Regions from separate parts of the Homo sapiens genome. Here regions 1, 2 and 4 are each linked to region 3. The links are contacts of gene promoters, found by promoter capture Hi-C in human tissues and cell types (Jung and others, 2019). All regions are on one chromosome and are shown on one strand. Each heading gives the region's core, a stretch centred on a gene start or on the middle of the fragment in contact. The rest is flanking DNA. Distances are from core to core; before and after follow the strand shown. Region 1 overlaps CLEC12A (C-type lectin domain family 12 member A). Region 2 overlaps CLEC1B (C-type lectin domain family 1 member B). Region 3 holds the start of CLEC7A (C-type lectin domain containing 7A). Region 4 holds the start of LINC02470 (long intergenic non-protein coding RNA 2470).

Evidence for each region. The method cuts DNA at HindIII sites, captures the fragments that hold promoters and counts their contacts. A contact is called where the count stands out against the background at its distance.
Region 1: a fragment that was not itself captured here is called in contact with the fragment with the promoter of CLEC7A in region 3 in 2 of the 25 tissues and cell types used here (H1 embryonic stem cells and mesendoderm cells).
Region 2: a contact is called between a fragment that was not itself captured here and the fragment with the promoter of CLEC7A in region 3, in 1 of the 25 tissues and cell types used here (mesenchymal stem cells).
Region 4: a fragment that was not itself captured here is called in contact with the fragment with the promoter of CLEC7A in region 3 in 3 of the 25 tissues and cell types used here (lymphoblastoid cells, mesendoderm cells and thymus).

The regions. Positions count from the first base shown.
Region 1 is chr12:9,972,596-9,975,850 of GRCh38, forward strand. All of the region lies in intron 1 of CLEC12A (C-type lectin domain family 12 member A), which reads left to right. Among named protein-coding and RNA genes, the nearest start is that of CLEC12A, 2.8 kb to the left of the region's middle. The HindIII fragment of the contact is 8,813 bases long and covers 1-3,255 here.
Region 2 is chr12:9,991,472-9,994,762 of GRCh38, forward strand. CLEC1B (C-type lectin domain family 1 member B) reads right to left here. Exons shown (of 6, transcript NM_016509.4): 6 at 1,604-1,816. The coding sequence ends at 1,672. It also overlaps a transcript of CLEC12A not described here. Among named protein-coding and RNA genes, the nearest start is that of CLEC1B, 6.0 kb to the right of the region's middle. The HindIII fragment of the contact is 4,209 bases long and covers 1-3,291 here.
Region 3 is chr12:10,128,891-10,131,945 of GRCh38, forward strand. It overlaps CLEC7A (C-type lectin domain containing 7A), which reads right to left and starts at 1,309. Exons shown (of 6, transcript NM_197947.3): 1 at 1,090-1,309. The coding sequence starts at 1,192. LOC105369655 (a long non-coding RNA gene) reads left to right here. Exons shown (of 4, transcript XR_007063208.1): 2 at 2,191-2,350; 3 at 2,795-2,902. The HindIII fragment of the contact is 18,210 bases long and covers 1-3,055 here.
Region 4 is chr12:9,942,331-9,945,577 of GRCh38, forward strand. LINC02470 (long intergenic non-protein coding RNA 2470) reads right to left here and starts at 1,165. Exons shown (of 5, transcript NR_104634.2): 1 at 800-1,165; 2 at 159-242. The HindIII fragment of the contact is 3,847 bases long and covers 1-3,247 here.

The DNA of each region.
Region 1 (3,255 bases), core at 74-2,573, 160 kb before region 3:
CCAAAATTCTCACATATTATTTAAGTTGTTGTCCTCTCTCCTCTCCCCACACAGAATATAACATCTTTAATATTCTAGCATTGCTATAAACAGAAATTTCACTGTTACATCTTGGATCCATTTATGATGAGCATTGTAAATCTTGAGAAAGGATAGCAGATTAATTCTGTTGGCTTCTTTTTTAATACTGAAATTTTTTTTTAGAAAGAAGAAGGGTTTAAGAATTTTACAATATTTTCTGTCTTTATTTCCTTGTTTATATTTCTTCTTTTATACACTGAAAGAGAATGGGCATATCATGAGCCTAATATTACCAACAATTGCCCTTTACTTGTCCTCTCACACCCTTTCCCACCTCTTTTCCTGCCAATCCACCTTAAGTTCCCACCACAAGAATTCCCTGAATTCACGGAAATATTGAATCCATGTCTTCTTCATGTTCTTAATCTCATCTAATTTTCTCATTATCGAGCTTAGAATCTACATTATGTAATATAACATTGTATTATGTAATGTCTACTCTTAGTCTCTTACACTTCTCCTCTTCAATGTGTGTTAATTTTTCCTTAAAAACTCCAGCTCTGGCTAGGTGCAGTGGCTCATACCCATAGTCCTAGCACTTTGAGAGGCCAAGATGGGAGGATTATTTGAGGCCAGAAGTTTGAGACCAGCCTGGGGAAAGTAGAGATATGCCATGTCTATAAAAAAAAAATTTTTTTAATTAACTGGGCACCCATAGTCTCAGCTGCTTGGGAGGCTGAGGAAAGAGGATTACTTGAGTCCAGGAGTTGGAGGCTCTAGTAAGCTAAGATCAGGCGAGTGTACTCCAGTCTGGGTGACACAGCAAGATCCTGCCTCAAACAAATCAAAACAAAACAAGACAAAAACCCCAAAAACAAACAAATAAAAACAACTCCAGTTCTGGTTAAACCCGAATATCCACCCAGTCTGCCCCAGAGTTGAATATTGCTGGTGAAAAATACACAAATTTTCAACCCCAGTTACTCTCACCTTTCCTCTGGTAAGAAAAAAGCATCCATCTACACTTTTTTTTGTTGTTATTTAAATGTCTATCCTACCATGTCCTTACTGATACTCTGCTTTCCTTCCAGATAGTATTTACGATAAGTATGTACTTATGAAGGGACGGCTCCTCATTTTGCTCTGAATTTCAGTCCATGTGTCGTTTTCAAAGACAGACTTCCGTAATTTTTTCCTTTCTCTCCTGTGTCATTATTCTCTCTTCCTTCTCTGCTTTTCCTTTTTGGTGCACCAACATACTCTACTACTCACCAATATACTCTGCTACTCCTTTTATAACAAAACACAATCCTTGCTTGACCACTTAAGCCTTTCCATTATTATTTAACTTCTTTGTTTCCTTTCACAACTCAACTTTTGAAAGCATTTTCTTTGGCCACTGACTCTCAGTTCTTCACCTCTCATTCTGTTCTCAACCAACTCTATTAGGCTTCTGCCCCCTTGGTGCCATAGAGACTGAGCTTTAGGTCACTGATGTCCTGCCTGTTTCATCCCAATAGTCACATGTCTCTTCCATTACTTCACTTCCCTGCAGCATTGAAAAAGTTGAACAGTCCTCTAAATGCTTTCTTTGCACATCCCTCCTGACACATCCTCATGGCTTCTCCTGTCACCATGCCTGCCTCTCCTCATTCTTTGTTGATTCCTCCTCCTAGATGAAACTCTACAAGATGGAATACTCTGAAGCCCTGTCCTGGGTCCCGTTTTATTGCATCACTCAGTACACTCTTCTAATCTACCTCATTCAGTTGTTTGACTTTAAATAGAGTGACTCCCCAATATCTCTGTATGACCTTTCCCTGAATCTCAAGACTAGAAAATACATGTGCCACTTTCACATTTCCATAAGGAGTTCTAATCTCATTTTAAACTTAAAATGTCAAAAATAGTAATATTTATTTTTCTTCTAAAATTGTCTCTCTCTCCAGACAGCCTCATCTCATTAAATACACATATAAATATATATTTAAATACAATTTTCAAGTGTTTTCTCTGTGCCAGTTCTGTTCTAATTGCATTATAAATATTAAATTATTTAGTGTCTGATACTTTGCAGTCTTTCTGTCTCCCATGCTTTAACCATATTGAAACTCAGACACAGAGATGTTAAAAGGTGTTAAATAATTTTCCCGAGGTTTCACAAGCAATAAGCAGCAGAACCAGAATTCAAACCAAAACATACTGATATGGTTTGACTGTGTCTCCACCCAAATCTCATCTTGAATTGTAGCTCCCATAAGTCCCACATGCTGTAGGAGGGACATGGTGGGAGGTAATTGAATCATGGGAGCGGGTTTTTCCCATGCTGTTCTTGTGATAGTGAATAAGTCTCATGAGATCTGATGGTTTTATAAAGAGGAGTTTTCCTGCACAAGTTCTCTCTTGTCTGTGGCCATGTGAGATGTGCCTTTCACCTTCCACCATGAGTGTGAGGCCTCTCCAGCCACATGGAACCATGAGTCCATTAAACCTCTTTTTACTTATAAATTACCCAGTTGTGGGTATGTCTTTATCAGTCGTGTGAAAATGAACTAATGCAGTAAATTGGTACCAATAGAGTAGGGCGCTGCTGTAAAGATACCCAAAAATCTGAAAGAGACTTTGGGACTGGGCAACAGGCAGAGGTTGGAATACTTTGGAGGGCTCAGAAGAAGACAGAAAAATGTGGGACAGTTTGGCACTTCCTAGAGACTTCTTGAATGGCTTTGACAAAAATGGTGATAAGGCTGAGGTGGTCTCAGATGGAGATGAGGAATTTGTTGGGAACGGGAGCAAAGGTGACTCTTGTTATGTTTTAGCAAAGTGACTGGTAGCATTTTGCTCCTGCCCTAGAAATTTGTGGAACATTGAACTTGAGAGGGATGATTTAGGATATCTGGCAGAAGAAATTTCTAAGCAGCAAAGCATTAAAGACGTGACTCGGGTGCTGTTAAAAGCATTCAGTTTTATAAGGGAAGCAGAGCATAAAAGTTCAGAAAATTTGTGGCTTGACAATGATAAATAAAAGAAAATCCCATTTTCTGAGGAGAAATTCAAGCCAGCTGAAGAAATTTCTAAAGTCATGGGAAGCCAAATGATAATCGCCAAGGCAATGGGGAAAATGACTCCAGGGCATATCAGAGGTCTTCCCAGCAGCCCCTCCCATCACATGCCCAGAGGCCTAGGAGGAATAAATGGTATTATGGACTGAGCCCAGGGTCCCTCTGCTGTGTG
Region 2 (3,291 bases), core at 137-2,636, 140 kb before region 3:
CAGTTTTCTGAATTATTGGTTCCTATTTAGTTTCTCTAAATAGACAATTCAAAATAAAAAACATACTGATACCATCACCCAAATCCAAGATCTCCAGACATTTGAAGTAACAAGTAAAATTTGAGGTATTTCTATTATTTTTCCTAAGCCCTCCAAATCTGCTTAATTATTGATAGGCTAGAAAAAAGATAAAGATTCAAGTGTCTTTCAGTGTTAGCGCACAAAGCTTTAAGAGTAACACATATTTATTGAGTATGTATTACATACTTGGTATTCTGATCGATACTTTATATAATCATATTAAATGAGCTTCACAATTAACTTATGAGCAAGGTAATAATATTAAACCCATTTCAAGGTGAGAACATTACTTATCCAAAGCCAGATAGAGAGTAAGTTCTAAAGTAGTGATATTTCTCTAACTGTATTAAAGACTACTTGTATGAGAATTGTGTCGTGATGCTGGTAAAAACCCAGGTCTCTGTGTCTCCTCAGTCTTCCCACTGAGTAACATCAGCATTTGAGTTTCCTATTTGGTTTCTCTATGTTTTAACCAAAACCTCCGTTGAGATGTTTGAGAATCATGTTCGTAAATGGTAGCCACTAGTTAAAAAAGGGAAGCTGTGGGAAAGAAATGCAATTTTTTCCTATTATCCTGTAAAAGGGTGCCTTTCCACATATTCTGTAAATACTTCCTGAGTTACTCAGCAAAAATAAAGCACAGAACTGTTAGGAAAATACTAATTAAAGCATTTTTACTTGTCCTTCTGTCTAGTAGCCTCTGAAACTTAAGAAGCATTTATTCATTTTACAAACCCAGTGAGTTTTCTTGCAAACTTTCTTTTCCTTCTCTAGCGCAGAAAATTACTACTGTTGAATCTAACCAGAGGTAGACTTGGAATAGTAATTCTATTTGCGTAATGTTTTAATGATTGAGCTATTTTTCTCATGAACTATCTTATACAAAGAGAAACAAATATCTCTCTGTTTTGTGAGCCAGGGTTTCGGGTTGGTGCTGGTAAGAGAATAGTGAATGGGGAAGTCATAGTGTTCGCTTTCATGGAGTTTCTGGTACAGTTAACACTCTAAAGTTCTATTTTAGGTTGTAGAACTGTGAGATATAAAAGATGGTTGTTATTATTCCTATTTTAAATATGAGAAAAGGGAAGTTAAAGAGGTTATGAAACTTGTTCATGATTGTAATTTAGTTAATTGACATCTAAATTATTTTGCTGATTCTAAGTTTAATATTCTTTTTACTATCTTACACCGCCTTTCAAACTTAGATATTTTGGACAGATTTCAAACATAGATATTTTGCACAACTTATATTAATTAAGCCCTAACCTATATTGGCCTGATTTTGATGTTATATGTGTATATCTGAAGATGCAGTAAATCATACCATGTTCAGGTAATTAGAAATGAAGGACAAGAAGAAAGAAAATTAAAGGAAAATAGAACAATTGGGAAGCAAATGATAAACTCACGTGATGGCTTCTGTATATTCAAAGAAGGGACTAGGTAATTCTGATAGGAAAGATAATATTAAAAATAACTCCAGTGAGAAGAAAGGGAGAAATAAGCAATTTTCAGCTACTGATGCATTCATACATATCTTTTATTGTACAATAAAGCCCTTATCTGTGTTATCCTGTCCACCTCTTTGCATTAAGGTAGTTGGTCCACCTTGGTCATGCCAGCCTTCCTCTCACACATTAAATAATGTTTGTTCTCACAGAAGGTAGGGTGCATTTTCCCATTATGAAAATAAGCACAATTCATATTTCCTTTTCCATCTTCCAAAAACTCAAACCTGTGAAGGGAAAGTTAGAATAAATTCCTTTGAAAACTGAGCAAACAATCAGTAATCAGACTCTGCGTATAGTAGTTTGATGCACCAAATAGAGACTGAGGAAAATAGGAAAAAAAAACAAAAAAAAAAACGATTCTCATTGTTGAGAAAGTTCCACCCTGCTTGGCAGTACAAGATATGCATATTTAAAAAGCCCAATATCAATTTCATTTAGCATAAAATTAGGAGCAAGGGAACAGTAGGTACAATAGGAGCCCTGAAGAAGTGATGGAGATGGCTCCAAAATAATGGGAAAACGCATTATCTACAAGATCAGACTTTAGTTCGGTATTGATGGAAGGTCAGGACTCAGATGAACTGACAGGAGATGGAAGAGCCCTACAGGACAAGTAGCTGCACTAGATGGGAATACGCTCATGGAAAAGTGAGTTGATTCAGTAGTTTTGAAATCAGGATTTATGTTGCAAGATAAATCATCTAACACAGCAGGCTGTATTGTAATTGTCTGTTAAGTTATATTTCTTTCTTTCTAAACTGCTTATAATGAGATGACAAGGAATATATACTTATTGGTTTATTTGGAGAATACCTGCAGAACTATGTGACAAAGTTGTTCTATGTGCTGAGGATACACTGATAAAGAAAGACAAGAAAGCTAATGTCTTTCTTGTTGGGGAACTTTCATTTAAGTGGGGCGATACCGGTAAGAAGCCCACAAAAAATAGACAAGAAAAATTGAGACAGTGGTAAGAGTTACAAAGAAACAAAACAGTGGTGGACTGTATGGATATGGGTTTAAGGGAGGCTAATTTAGTTTGGGTAGAGTTAGGTTCACTGAAGAAGTGATGTTTAAATAGAGACTTGAGTCTCAGTGGAGAGATGGTCATGGAGTTGTGGAGGCAGAGCATTCTAGAAGAAAATAGCAAGACAAAAGCCTTAAGGTAACAAAACGAGTTTGATTTGTTGGAAGAATGTAAAGAACACTAAGTTGCCTGCAATATTGTAAATGAGGCAGCAAGCAATAGGAGATAGGAGATAAAGCCCAAGGTCTGTGAAGAGGCTTGCTTGTAGTTGTAGTATCCTAAGATCCTATCTATAGTAAATACTTAATAAATATTTGTTTAAAAATTTAATTCATAATTTGAGTAATAATCAGATTATATAAGTTTTGGTTATCAGTTTAAATTTTAATTGAAGAGAGACTGCAGTTTTGATATACAGGATGAACAAAAGATGTTGAGACTGCAGATTGGAAAGCCATATAGGAAGCAACTCCACTCAATGCAATCAGTCCCTTTGCCTGGATTGTTTGTAGAAGGACAAAGCTTCGTTAATGGACATTGGAATTATCTTGTGAAATACAATGTATCGAATTCTTGGAGACTCCCAGAATAGAGGAATAGGCAAAACAATATTGAAAACTCAAAAGGACTCTCAAGATAACAACTTTCAACTGTAAAATAATGATATGAAAT
Region 3 (3,055 bases), core at 59-2,558:
TCTGGTGTCAAAACCGACAAATGATCTCTCTCTCTCAAAGATAATAGGGAACTAATTTTGTATGAACATTGCCATAACCAGAATGTATTTCTGCTTTCCACTGTGACTAAGCTGTCAGGACATTTCATAGAATTGTCACATAGGAGAATCGTAGAGTAGGCTAAATCACCCATTCTATGAATACAGAGATCCTCCAATGCCCTTCTTTCTATTTCATTTCATTTACACTTTGTTTAAGACTCATGTCCTGCTGGTGGGATGTTTTTATCTACCATATGTTCATATATTTTCCATCACTGGTATACCAATAATTGTTTTTTGTTTAAAAACAATTTAAATTAATCTCTTACCACAAAAAAAAAATGTTGTTCATATATATACTTCTTTAAGTTTCCTGGCCTCCATTCGATAATCTAGCCTTTCTATCAAACAAGCAACAAGTCACTCATACAGAAATCCTTTATCTTTGTGTATTATCCCACTTATTACCAATTCCTCACTGATGAAATGTCTATATCTATAGAAAAGAGAAATTCTATTTTCTGCCATCAGACATAATTAATTTAAACACTAATAATTGGTCACTGAATAATTTTCATGAAAAAAGGTTTAGGGTGCATTCAATTTATCTTCAGTGACATCTGAAGCCTTTAAAAGTATATCCATAAAAATATACACATCACGAGGCTCTCAAATTTTCTCCCCTTATATCTTTTTGTTTTGTTTTTATTTTTATTTTTTTTCAGAGATGGAGTCTTGCTCTGCCACCCAGGCTGGAGTGCATTGGCATGATCTTGGCTCACTGCAACCTCCACCTCCCAGGTTCAAGTGATTCTCCTGCCTCAGCCTCCCAAGTACCTGGAACTACAGGCGTGCACCACCATGCCCGGCTAATTTTTGTATTTTTAGTAGAGACAGAGTTTCACCACGTTAGCCAAGCTGGCCTCGAACTCCTGACCTCAGTCAATCCACCCGCCTCGGCCTCCCAAAGTGCTGGGATTACAGGTGTGAGCCACCATGCCTAGCCTCCCCTTATATCTTTTCAAACGGGAGAGCTAAAGGCACACATTAGAAAAAACATATATATACCTTTCTCTGAAACAACAGCTATCCTGGTATTGCTTTGAGAGTCGAAGTGTAATTGAGTATATCCATCTTCATCCAAATTTTCTAAATCAGGATGATATTCCATTGTTCTTGAGAGCCCCTGAATAGATATAGCATTTGGGAGCTCTTTTCTTTCTGCTCCTGAGATGACTGTCTGTGGACAAAAGAGAATCTCTGAGTCAAATCATGTGGGCTAGGTACTTACCGGAGTTTAACAAATTAAGCTTAAGTAGTTCAACCAGATATTCAAGAGCAGGAAATGAAACTATGCTGTGGTAATTTTCCATTTGTACCTTTAGATCCTGTTTCTGAGACTGCTGACTCAGGAAAACTAAAAGGCAGCATAGCAGATGAGTCTTTGTTTCAGACCAAATGTAAGAAAAATGCATACATTAATGTCTTATGCTGCCTTCATTACTCTCACAACTAAGTCTGACATTAATTAATTTAACCGATGCAAACTATTTCAGTTTTGGTGCTCCAAGTTTACCATAACTTTGTTCATGTATTTATTCATGTATTTTTTAAATTACATAAACAGGTACTGGATGCCCACCTTTTCAATTGGTAGGAGCTTACAATACAAGGAAAAATGATACCTATGAAGAAACTCATTGCTTAATAAAGGAAATATATAGATAGGTAAATGAGGGATGGCATGAGGAGATGCATTGTTGTAACAACAGACAGAGAAAACAAATCTCTTTGGGAATTATCAGATATTAACACAAAATAACATTTATTGAACAATTACTATGAGCTAAGTACCACATGTTGTACATATTTTCTTGTTCAATCTCACTTTTCCAAGTCTATATAGTAGGCATTATTATTTCTATTTTCAAATGAAAAAATGAGACAGAAAATTTAGCCTCTTTCTCAGGTTTAAGAAGCTAATTTTAAAAATTTAGAGCAAGGAATCAAATCAAAGCTGACTCTTGCTGCAAAACTCGTGGTCTTTTCTGTTACGCTACACTGCCTCTTTCATCATTCCATACACTTATATTGCAAGGAACAGCTTATGGAAGGTGTTGGGACTGAAATATTATGTTAGATGTTTGATTTTTTTTCCCTCTCTTCCAGTTTCCATAGTAATGATCAAATCAAAGAAATATAGAAAACACCTAACATTGCTGGAAACTGAAGAGGTGTTCAACTCATTTATCCGACCTTGAAGCCAGTAGAGTGCAGGAGACATCTGAGTGTTGTCAAGGATCAACAAATCTGGATACTAGTTAATGTGGTGAGGACAGGTTTTATTCAGTAATACTATTGCAACAGGAACCAGTGCAGCATTAACTGAACTCAACTTCCCCAAAAGTAAAGCTGATGACATTTTAAAGTGGAGTTTGCTAAGGAAAAGATACTGAGTGGTGTTAAGGAAAGTTAATGTGACTAGACTCTCTGGATTTGTTAATTGGCCCTTATCCAGAGGACAGAGAAACTTTGCCTATCTATATGACAGAAGGACATGGTGATAGTTGAAGTGAAGCACCCAGCTAAGTTGGTCCTTATGCTGCATCTGAAAGAAAGAGCAAGATTTATCTCCCTGAATGTTTGCATTTCAAAGAAACAGCTCCCAAGTCCTTGAAGAAACAGTTCTGTGTGGTAGATTTGCTTCTCAAAGGGCAGAGAAAGAATTTAACTGTAAGATTTATTTTTCTTTTCTTTCTTTTTTTTTTTTTAGACGAAATTTCGCTCTTGTTGCCCAGGCTGGTGTGCAAATGGCACGATCTCGGCTCACCACAACCTCCGCCTCCCGGGTTCAAGCGATTCTCCTGCCTCAGCCTCCTGAGTAAGCTGGGATTACAGGCATGTGCCACCACGCCAGGCTAATTTTGTATTTTTAGTAGAGACAGCATTTCTCCATGTTGGTCAGGCTGGTCTTGAACCCCTGACCTCTGGTGATCCGCCTGCCTCGGCCTCCCAAAGTGCTGGGATTACAGGC
Region 4 (3,247 bases), core at 174-2,673, 190 kb before region 3:
TTGAAGAGCAATTAGATGCACTGTCTTGGAAAATGCTTTTATCTCTAAATTGTTCTATATTAAGGAAGGAAAGACTAGTTATTGGTATCCAACTGAATCAATAATACAATAATTTTAACAATTTAATTTAATAATTTTAGCAGAAATTGTTTACTTACATTTTCTGGGAAATCTTAAAATCCCCCAAAGAAGAAAAGCAATGCCTCCACATATAAAAATTGAGATGATCATTATTTTCCTTTCTATTATACCAAAGAGAAACAGATGTCATTGTTTATGTTCCAGAGAGAAAAAAAGCAAGCAAACCAACAAAAAACCCATCATGTTTATCTCTTTTCTCTATCTTCCGCGTGTTCTACTGTTCACAATTCAGCAATTAATGTATTAGAAAAATAAGAAAGGGAACTAAGACCTAACGTTTGAACATCAGGAGCCTCGAAGGTGCTTTGGCTCCACTTTCCTGTGCTATTTGGCAGAACTGTGTTACTAATTCTTCTGCCCTGCTTCCAGAACAGAAAACCAACAGTTTCCTCGCAGCGTCTTTTAATAAAATACTGCCTTTTCCAAGGGAAAATTCCAAGTATTTTTAATGAAATACTGTCTTTTCCAATATGATGGAGGAGGCTGGAATCGCCAATTATCATTATTATTGAAGTCTTTGTTTTATTAATGAAAACTGCTTTTACTTAAGATCTATATTATGGTCGCTATCCCCTACCCTGCCCTTCCCTCCCAATGCTAAAAGGGTGCAAGCTAGGATCAAGAAAAGATGCTAGAATAATCACACAACCTCACCCACCTGGCGTGTTGGTCTGCTGCTCCACAACCTCCGTCCCATCCTTACTCTCCATCCCTTCTCCCTCCATCTCCAACCCTCACGAGGAAGGCTCATCCTTCTGTGTGTGATCACAGAGGCTGGAATAATCCTGCGGGTGAATTGCAAATTGCTAAGTATATTTGGTGAGTGCAAACCGCAGGAAACTGACGACCCGGTTTTTCTGAGGGGTGGTGCGGCAGCAAGACAGTAGGAGAAACAGCACAGCAACCTAGCATCCTCCACTCAGCCGCGCAGGTGGACTTGGGCCAGATGGCCCCCAGGGGCGTGTCATGTGCCTTCTCTGACGTTTGTACGAGGCAGGGGCAGCAACGGCAGCCGGGCATGCACCAACGGTGCCTCTGCCCCGGCAGCGATGACTCTACAGCCCATGATTTCCGCAGCCCACGATTGGCTGGGGCACAGCGATAAGAATTCAACCTAATGGGCACCTCACCTCCCACCTGCTTGGTACGCAGAGCAGAGAATGGGGAGTCCCATACCCTCCCTTTCCGGCTTCTTTATATTGTCTCCCTAAAAATCTCCGATTGGACACAGGTATATAACATAAATTGCCTGCACTGGAAAGTGTACACATTCTCTCACGCCACAAAGTGGATCTGCCCCCATTTTCTTGTTTTTAATAACTTTTTTCTGTTCTACATTTTTAACCACTGTGTTCTAAGTGTACCTGTGGAGTGTTTAGTAAAATGTGGGAAAACAAAGCCATTGTTTTTACATGTTTTCATAGGAACTAATGAAAGCTTGTTTCATATACAGGCAGTTTTTATTTTGCACTGTAGTGTGTGATAATAAAAATTACTGCACAAGCTGATATCACACCAAGCTATTTTAATAATAGGGAAAAGTATGATTTTTCCTTTATCCTCTTTTCCTGATTGAAAATTACTTTACTGTCACTCATAAACGTATAGGGAAATGTAAACAACAATAAAATTAATATTTTTAAAGTATGCTATAATTAAAACATTAAAAACACTGAGTTTCAAGTGTTTTGCTTAAAAGAAAATGAGTAGTGTGAATTGAGTACGTGCTGTTGTTGTTCTATCGCTTACAATATGGAGCCAGCATCTTTTAGATGCCTTCTCAAGCTTTTTTATTCCTAAATTTGGATAGACTTCCAATATACTATTCTTTGCACTTGAAATGTTAGGAAACACATTGAGAGTTCATTTGATGTGAACACTTTAGCTCGTATAACTTCCTCTGGGACCTCTTCATTCTTTTCATCACAACCACTTACCTTATTTTTGTCAATAAGTGTGCCTTTACTAAATTCCTCTGGTTGCATTATCTAGAGACTCTTCAAAAGGTGAATTATTAATAACCCTATCAACAGCTATTGCTTCTCTAACTTCATTTCTCTTCTATTTTATTTCCCCTTTCAGCGCCATCATTTTTTGCTGCACTTTGTGTCACTAACCAATTTCCTGTTTCAATTACCTTCCTCTTCTTGTCTTCCTGTTTCAAATTTCCTTTGGAATTTGTCATACAGTGACAAACCCATGTGACATTTACAAAATAATACAGAATAACTCTCCATCTTATTCTGTATTAACTGATAAAAGATGCATGGTGACCAATCAATCATTGACAGACTTGGAAAAAAGTGACATGGTTGGTCGTTAATCACAATACAAACATGTATATAGTGATTCGTGAACTGAAAAACTAGCATGGAAGTTTCTACTTTATACAATTACTTACAGTAAATATAATACAAATACAGATAAGTACGCTGAAAGAATTAAACTGTGCTGTTGGGGAGTTATTTAATTAAACTGTGAGAAGTGAAGTTTATGCATATTAGAACCACGCAAAGTAAAGTTTATACACACACCCTACTCCCCACAGACATTCTCTTTAAAATATACATATACGGCCGGGCACTGTGGCTCACGCCTGTAATCCCAGCACATTGGGAGGCTGAGGCAGGCAGAGCATCTGAAGTCAAGGAGTTTGAAACCAGTTTGGCCAACATGGTGAAACCCCGTCTCTACTAAAAATACAAAAATTAGCCTGGTGTGGTGGCAGACGCCTGTAATCCCAGCTACTCAGGAGGCTGAGGCAGGAGAATCGCTTGAACCCAGGAGGCGGAGGTTGTAGTGAGCCGGCGTCCCGCCATTGCACTCCAGCCTGGAGATATATATATATATATAAATTTTCATATATATATATAAATTTTCATATATATACACACACAAATACATATACAAACACATACATATGCATGTATAAGCATATATTGTATGTGTATAGACCTTATTCTATACATAAGAATTATTTATACTTATTTATGTAATGTATTCTTGTGACTTCAGTAATTAATTAGCACAGATTTCAAAGCTATAAATGGTAGAAATGTGGTATCTCACAGTTCTGGAGGCCAGAAGTCTGGAATAAAGAGGCTCT